Linked DNA regions of Homo sapiens: regions 1 and 2 are each linked to region 3. The links are contacts of gene promoters, found by promoter capture Hi-C in blood cells and fetal thymus (Javierre and others, 2016). All regions are on one chromosome and are shown on one strand. Each heading gives the region's core, a stretch centred on a gene start or on the middle of the fragment in contact. The rest is flanking DNA. Distances are from core to core; before and after follow the strand shown.

Region 1 (2,824 bases), core at 131-2,630, 320 kb after region 3:
GGGCGTGGTGGCTCATGCCTGTAATCCCAGCACTTTGGGAGGCTGAGGCGGGAGGATCACCTGGAGTTCGAGACCAGCCTGGCCAACATGGTGAAACCCTGTCTCTACTGATACTAAAAAATTAGTGGGGTGTGGTGGCACGTGCCTGTAGTCCCAGCTATTCGGGAGGCTGAGCCAGGAGAATCACTGGAACCCGGGAGGCAGAGGTACGGTGAGCCAAGATTGAGCCCTTACACTCCAGCCTGGGCAACAGAGCAAGACTCTGTCTCAAAAAATAAAAATTAGCCAGGTGTGGTGGTACATGCCTGTAGTCCCAGCTACTCAGGGGGCTGAGGTGGGAGGATGGCTTGAGCCTGGGAGATCGAGGCTGCAGTAAGCCACGACTACACCACTGCACTCTAGCCTGGGTGACAGAAGGATAAACTGTCTCAAAAAAAAAAAATGCCCTAAAATGAGAGCAACTAAATGCCCATTAGCAGAGAATGGACAAATAAGTTGTGGGATATTCACAGCAGTGGAAATGAATCTTCAAGTACATGAAAAACTGTGGCTGAATCTCACAAACATAATGAAACCAGAGCCAAGAACATTTATATGAAGTTCAGGAACAGGCAGACTAATGTAATCTGTTACAAGTTAAGGTGGCAATGGAATACTACAAAGCCATAAAAAGGAATGAGATCGTGTCCTTTGCGGGGACATGGATGAAGCTGGAAGTCATCATTCTCAGCAAACTAACACAGGAACAGAAAACCAAACACACTCACTCATAAGTGGGAGTTGAACAATGAGAACACATGGACACAGGGAGGGGAACATCACACATTGGGGCCTGTCTGGGAGTGGAGGGCGAGGGAAGGGAGAGCATTAGGACAAATACCTAATGCACGCGGGGCTTAAAGCCTAGGTGATGGGTTGATAGGTACAGCAAAGCACCGTGGCACATGTATACCTATGTAACAGACCTGCATGTTCTACACATGTATCCCAGAACTTAAGGTAAAATAAAAAGAAGAAGAAGGAGAAGAAGAGGAAGAGGAAGCAGAAGAAGAACAAGAAGGAGAAGAAGGAGAAGAAGAAGTAGTTAGAGTGGTGGTTACTTTTGGATTGAGGGGAGTAGAGGCTGGGAGTGGGCACAACAGGGACTGCTGAGGATCTGGTGATGTTCTAGTTCTCGATTTGGGTTGTAGTCACACAAGTGTGTTCGTTTTGTAAAAATCCATCTAACCATACATTATCATTTATGCACCTTTCTGCATGTAAATATACTTTATTATAAGTTTTTGAAAAGCCTTCATGTTCTCATGAAATAAAACAAATATAACGAAGGTAGAGCCTTTGCAGTTGATTTAGTAGCTCAGGGTGCATTCATCCAGCCTCAGGTAGCAATTTGTCCTGCTGCAGGACTTTGTATAGGCTGTTTCTCCTAGAAGACTTTCCCTCTCCTTAATGCCTCCTAGTTAACTCCAGAGCATTCTTTTCTTTCTTTCTTTTTTTTTTTCTTTTTAAAGACAGAGTCTTGCCCTATCTCCCGCGCAGGAGTGCGGTGGTGCGAACTTGGCTCACTGCAACCTCCACCTCCTGGGTTCAAGCGATTCTCCTGCCTCAGCCTCCCAAGTAGCTGGGATTACAGGCGTGTGCCACCATGCCTGGATAATTTTTTGTATTTTTAGTAGAGATGGGGTTTCACTGTGTTAGCCAGGATTGTCTCGATCTCCTGACCTTGTGATCCGCCCTCCTCGGCCTCCCAAAGTGCTGGGATTACAGGCATGAGCCACTGCGCCTGGCCCAGTGCATTCTTTATTTTACAGCTCATCCATAATTTCCTCCAGGAAGTCCTCCTTGACTTCACAGTCTAAGTCAGGCATCTTTGCTACAGACTCGCAGAACTTTGATTTCAAACATTTCCTTTGGGTGTAATGATGCCCTTGTTCATGCATTTATTTGATTGTTGTCTTCCTCGACAGAATGAGAGCTGTGAAATGGTGGTAATGTGTTTGTTTCTGTTCATCCTTATATCTCCAGGGCTGAGTACAGCACTTGATAGTAAGCACTCGGTACATATTTGCCAAGTAAATAAATGAGGGAAGAAATAAATGAGTGCGTAAATGAATAACAGTCTGTGGATGTAGTTCAAAGCTACTCACAACGAATATTGCTTTATCTCATAAATTTATTTATTTATTTTAGAGACAAGGTCTCACTCTGTCTCCCAGGCTGATTGTAGCTCACTGCAGCCTTGAACTCCTGGGCTCAAGCAATCCTTCTGCCTCAGCCTCCCAAGTAGCCGGGACTACAGACACATGCCACCATGCCTGGCTAATTTTCTTTTGTTTTTTGTAGAGCTGAGTGTCTCGCTATGTTGCCCAGACTGGTCCCAAACTCCTGGCCCCAAGTGATTCTCCTGCGTTAGTCTCCCAAAGTGCTGGGAAATAGGCATAGGCCACCATGCTTAGCTCATAAACTTATTTAAAATGTTCAGTTTTAATGTTCTATAGCAGATACAAATATATAATATTTTACATTACTTTCCATCATGTGAAACTGATAATCCTAGAAAAACACACGTTCACCTGTGTATAGCCTTCTGTACCTTCTGGCTCACCAATTTGTCTTCCCAGATATAGTATATGTGTCTTAATTTTGGAAGCTAAGACTTTTGTGTGCTTGACACCAACCATGCTATAGCTGAGAAATGGCAGTCAGGAGTGGATGACCTTAAAGGGCATTTGGATCTCAGCTGAGGAATGGGGGCTGCAGGAAGATAATAGGATTTTCCCAAGGTTACAGAGCTATGTGGTCTTTCCAGTTATATTTTATTGAG
Region 2 (2,700 bases), core at 170-2,669, 390 kb before region 3:
TTTGAGGTGGAATCTCACTGTGTCACCCAGGCTGGAGTGCAGTGACATGATCTCGGCTCACTACATTCAAGCAGTTCTCCTGCCTCAGTCTCCTGAGTAGCTGGGATTGCAGGCACGTGCCACCATGCCCTGCTAATTTTTGTATTTTTAGTAGAGATGGGGTTTCACCATGTTGGCCAGGCTGGTCTTGAACTCCTGACCTCAAGTGATCCACCCGCCTCAACCTCCCAAAGTTCTGGGATTATAGGCATGAGCCACCGTGCCTGGCTGGGATATTTTTTAATTGTAATTTTAATTAATTGATTTTTAAAATAGAGATGGGGGGGGTCTTACTATGTTGCCCAGGCTGGTCTCAAATTCCTGGCCTCAAGTGATCCTCCTGCCTTGGCCTCCTAAAGTGCTGGGATTACAGGCGTGAGCCACAGTGCCTGGCCATGACTTCTGGTTTTGAAACGCCCCAGCAGAGGGATCCGCAGAGGAGGAGTTGCTGTCAGCTGGTGCTCACGGGGTGCCTCTCTCTACGGACCCAGCCTAACTAGGACTTTGACCTGCATCGGGGGGATGGGGGGGTTAGGGAGCTTAGGTGGGACAGGTGGCCTCTGGTAGTGCCAGGTTTCTCTATGAGATGGCACTATCAAGAGTGTCCTTGTCGATGGCATTTGGAGAACATGCCGCGGGGCCGGGAAAGCCATCTGCTCCACCTGGTGCTTCCTCTATGATGCTATTCTTGTATGTGGGCACTCAGAAAATCCCAACCAGGCCAAGCGAGGTAGCTCACACCACTAATCTCAGCACTTTAGGAGGCCGAGACAGGAGGATCACTTGAGGCCAGGAGCTTGAGGCCAACCTGGGCAACATAGTGTGACCCATCTATTTAAAAAATTAATTAATTTAAATTTAAAAAATCCCAGTCAGGTGCCGTGGCTCACGCCTATAATCCCAGGACTTTGAGAGGCCGAGGCAAGTGGATCGCTTGAGCCCAGGAGTCTGAGAACCAGCCCGGGCCAACACTGCAAAACCCCATCAAGAAATACAAAAAAATTAGCCGGGCGTGGTGGCACATGCCTGTAGTCCCAGCTGCTAGGGAAGCTAAGGTGGGAGCATCACTTGAGCCTGGGAGGTTGAGGCTGCAGTGAGCTGTGATTGCGCCACTGCAGTCTAGCCTGGGCAACAGAGAAAGACCCTGTCTCAATAAATAAATAAATAAATAAATAAAGTAAAAAAATTCTAACCATAATAATAATGATGATATTGAAAATGTACTGAGTACCAGCTATGGTGCTGGGTACTGTGTTGTATACTTTATTTGGATTCTCACATTTCACCCTTAAAACAGGCCTTTGAAGTGGAGATTATTATTATCTCCATTTCACGGATTGGAAAACTGAGACTTGGAGAGATGAATTGTCAGATGGCTAGTTGGTGGTGGGAAAGGGGATTGGAATTTTTCTACACTGTTTGACTCAGCCTGGAAAAGTCAAAAAGGCAAAAAAGGTCCGGTCAGAGGAAGGGAGCGGGCAGTAGGGGGCAGTAAACCACAGTGAGAGAGGGCCGGGGAGCACAGCCCTAGGACAGTGGCTCCCAAGGAGTGAGCCCCTAAATGGAAGCCCAGTGGGCTGAGCAGTTAAGAGGCAAGTTCAGAAAGGACAAAGGCCCCTAGATACTCTCCGGACTGCCCCTAGGCAGAGCCCATTCCTCCCTGCAGTGTATGTAGGTCACACCACAGGCCGCCCTGGGGACAGCCCCAGGCCTGGGGATGTCATTCTCTGCCCTGATGCCTAACTTAGGAGATCCACTGCCACAGATGCTAGCTCTGGCAGGGGGATCTGAAGGATGAGCCATCTGTAGCACTCAAGTCTAGAAGCTGGATCTTCTGAAGCAAGGCCATGGCTGTGCTGGGGGTTCTGGTCATTTACAGAACGTAGGTAGAAAAAGTTAGAGCCTTACGTTTGGGGCACAGACTTTATAGATAACAGCAAAGGGGTTGCTACTGTGGTTTCAAACGAAATGGAAGCCACAAATCTAAAAGGCTTTTTGGATCACTACACTAAGGTGCATTTCTGATGTCCTATTTGCAATTAGTGTTATTTTGGTTATTTTTTCATCATGTGCCTATAACACTCTTGGTCTTCCAAGACCGTTATTTCAACGGTAACTACTTCTGGGTTCCTTGCTTTTGTGCTTTCTGAGTCATTATAAAAAAATCTCCTGGTCTGGCCAGGTGCAGTGGCTCACGCCTGTAATCCCAACACTTTGGGAGGCCGAGGCAGACAAATCACCTGAGGTCAGGAGTTCGAGAGCAGTCTGGCCAACATGGCGAAACCCCATTTCTACTAAAAATACAAAAATTAGCCGGGCGTGGTGCCATGCGCCTGTAATCCCAACTACTTGGGAGGCTGAGGCAGGAAAATCATTGGACCCAGGAGACAGAGGTTGCAGTGAGCCGAGATTGCGCCATGGCACTCCAGCCTGGGTGACAGAGCGAGACTCTCTCTCAAAAAAAAAAAAGTATGGAAAAAGAAAAATTTAAAAAATAATAAAAATTTAAAAAATAATAAAAATTTAACTGTTAAAAAAAAAGCAAGATGGAACAAGGTAACATTTGATCTTAGGGAGAAACTGCACTGATAGATGCCAAAACTGGCCCTCTGTGACTAGTACAAATATAACGTGAGCCATTTGTGTTAATTTTTTTTTTTT
Region 3 (2,700 bases), core at 200-2,699:
TTCATTTTACAAATGTCAAGACCAAGCTTTGAAAGGAAAATGGTTCACCCAAGAGCTTTCTTGTGAGTGCCTGAGGTTGGACTTAATTAAGCTCAAGACTTTGGGATTCCAAAGACCCTGCATTTTACCAGGATACCAAATTGTTCCTCTGAGAATCCCAAGTGAATAAAAAGAGCCAACATCGACTATGCCCAGCACCGTGTGCTACATGCTTTTTATAAATTATTTCATCTAGTTCTAACAAACAAATGAAGAAGCAAAGAAAACACCCTGGGAGGTAGGTATTGTTGTTATCATTCCTATTTTACAAATAAGGTAGGTGTTGGGTGCTGTGGCTCATGCCTGTAATCCCAGCACTTTAGGAGGCTGAGGCGGGCAGATCACCTGAGGTCAAGAGCTCAAGACCACCCTGGCCAACATGATGAAACCCTGTCTCTATTAAAAATACAAAAATTAACTGGGTGTGGTGGCGGGCACCTATAATCCCAGCTACTTGGGAGGCTGAGGCAAGAGACTCAATTAAACCTGGGAGGCGGAGGTTGCAGTGAGCCAAGACCATGCCATTGCATTCCAGCCTGGGTGACAGCATGAGATTCTGTCTCAAAAGCAACCGAAAACCAATTAAGGGAGGTGAGGCCCAGAGCAAGAAGGTCCACAAAGATGACATGGAGGTTAAGTGGCAGACCTAAGGCTCAAACTCAGACCTTTCTGCCTCCAGACCTCCAGAGCCCAGGCTCTTATCCATTAGGCTACACTGACTCTCAGCTGTCATTTAAGGGAGACTATGGTGATGTAGGGCTGGGAAGGGGGAGCAGGTTAGCCACAGAGAACTAGTGAAAATGCACCATTGGATCTAGTTCATTCACACCCCTAGCCATGCCACCGGAATTGGAGGTGACTTCGTATACGTGGTTTGTTTTTCTTTTTTTTTTTTTTTTTGAGACAGAGTCTCTGTCTCCCAGGCTGGAGTGCAGTGGCATGATCTCGGCTCACTGCAAGCTCCGCCTCCCGTGTTCACGCCATTCTCCTGCCTCAGCCTCCCGAGTAGCTGGGACTACAGGCGCCCACCACCACACCCGGCTAATTTTTTGTATTTTTAGTAGAGACGGGGTTTCACCGTGTTAGCCAGGATGGTCTCCATCTCCTGACCTCGTGATCCGCCCGCCTCGGCCTCCCAATGTGCTGGGATTACAGGCGCGAGCCACTGCGCCCGGCCCACATGGTTTGTTTTCTAAGTGATTATCTCTCCGTGGAGGCCTGTAATTGTTTCTGTCCTATTTTACCTGAGCATCTCCTCCCCCTACTGAATTACCCAATTCCTAACAAGTTCTCTGTTCAAGGTCCCCCTTCGCTGTGGCCAGAAGCCAAGTTCTGCTGGGTGCACAATCCTGCGGATCACCTGATCAGAGAGAACTGAACCTACAAAAGAGAGCTCAACCTCCTTTTCCATACCTACCAGGGACCTAGTTCAGCTACGTCCTAAACAGTACCAGGTAAGACAGAGGTGAAGGTCAGCTTCTATCTGTGTGTGTGTGTGTGTGTGTGTGTGTGTGTGTGTGTGTGTGTGTGTGTAATCCAATTTTAAGTTCTGGCAATGCTACTTTTAAGTTGAGTGACCTTGGGCAAGTCACTTAACTTCTTGGCACTTCATTTTAGAGGCAAAATGACAATGGTGATATTGGGTGAGAGGAATAAATAGGAACGTACATGTAATATGTTTAGCACAGTGGCTGGCATGTAAATGGGGACTGGTTTAGTGTCAGGCAGCTCTGAATGTGGTGAGCCGTGGGAGACAGGCACAAAGTCAGAGATGAATGTTTGAAGGAAATCTTTTCTATCTATGCAGAAGTTGGCTCACTTTCTATAAAGTGAATGCCTTCTAAAAAAAATTATCCAAGCATAGTAATACATGCCTGTGGTCCCAGGTACTTGAAAGGCTGAGGCAGGAGGATGACTGTAGCCCAGGAGATTGAGGCTGCAGTGAGCTATGATCACACCACTGCACTCCAGTCCAGGTGACAGTTTCAAAAAAAATGGTTAACATCTAATGGGGAGGGGGTTGGCTTCAGAATTTGCTGGGAGTTAAAAGGTACCTCAACATTTATTGAGTCCTTACCGTGCACTTCATTCAGTGCCAGCAAGTAAATTATCACACTAATCCTTATGGGGAGCTGGGAAGAAGGTATTACTACTGTGCGCTTAAGTTCAGAGACATGAACAGCACCAAAGACCCAGCTGCTAGACAACAGAGACAAACATCTAGCCCTGGCTCTGTAACTCTGGGATACCCTATAACACAGTAAGTATGTTGCTTCATTAAATAGCTTTATCAGTCCCAAGTCCTGTGAAGTCAAAGCTTAGTTGCAGGAGCTGTTCAAGGCACTATGTATCTGGGAATACAGTGGGGAGCCCAGCTGCCTCTCAAAGCTACCATGTCAAATTGCTTTCAGAATGCACTTTAAGCAGTTCAGAAAATTGTTCTTTAAAATGATTTCATAGGATGTGCTTTAATGATATGCTCTAACAGGGTAGGAACTCTTTCAGTTTAATTAATCTCCAATAGTATCTAAAACTGTACATGGTACATCTATAGTAAATACTTGAGAAAGAAAAAATACATTTTTCTATAACTCAGATAATTTGTGGGCACACTGGCTTTTCTCTTTCTGACTTTCATCACTCAGTTTTCTGAATTATGAC

Evidence for each region. Contacts are between HindIII fragments. The CHiCAGO score rates a contact against its expected background, and 5 or more counts as called.
Region 1: a fragment that was not itself captured here is called in contact with the fragment with the promoter of ACSM1 in region 3 in 1 of 17 cell types (naive B cells); the score reaches 5.5 in naive B cells.
Region 2: a contact is called between a fragment that was not itself captured here and the fragment with the promoter of ACSM1 in region 3, in 1 of 17 cell types (fetal thymus). The highest score is 5.1, in fetal thymus.

Annotation. Positions count from the first base shown.
Region 1 is chr16:20,376,638-20,379,461 of GRCh38, reverse strand. All of the region lies in intron 3 of PDILT (protein disulfide isomerase like, testis expressed), which reads left to right. Among named protein-coding and RNA genes, the nearest start is that of UMOD, 25 kb to the right of the region's middle. The HindIII fragment of the contact is 9,970 bases long and covers 1-2,824 here.
Region 2 is chr16:21,082,831-21,085,530 of GRCh38, reverse strand. The region is part of intron 19 of DNAH3 (dynein axonemal heavy chain 3); the gene reads left to right. Among named protein-coding and RNA genes, the nearest start is that of DNAH3, 67 kb to the left of the region's middle. The HindIII fragment of the contact is 5,288 bases long and covers 1-2,700 here.
Region 3 is chr16:20,696,429-20,699,128 of GRCh38, reverse strand. ACSM1 (acyl-CoA synthetase medium chain family member 1) reads left to right here and starts at 1,449. Exons shown (of 14, transcript NM_001318890.3): 1 at 1,449-1,493. It also overlaps a transcript of ACSM3 not described here. The HindIII fragment of the contact is 2,330 bases long and covers 29-2,358 here.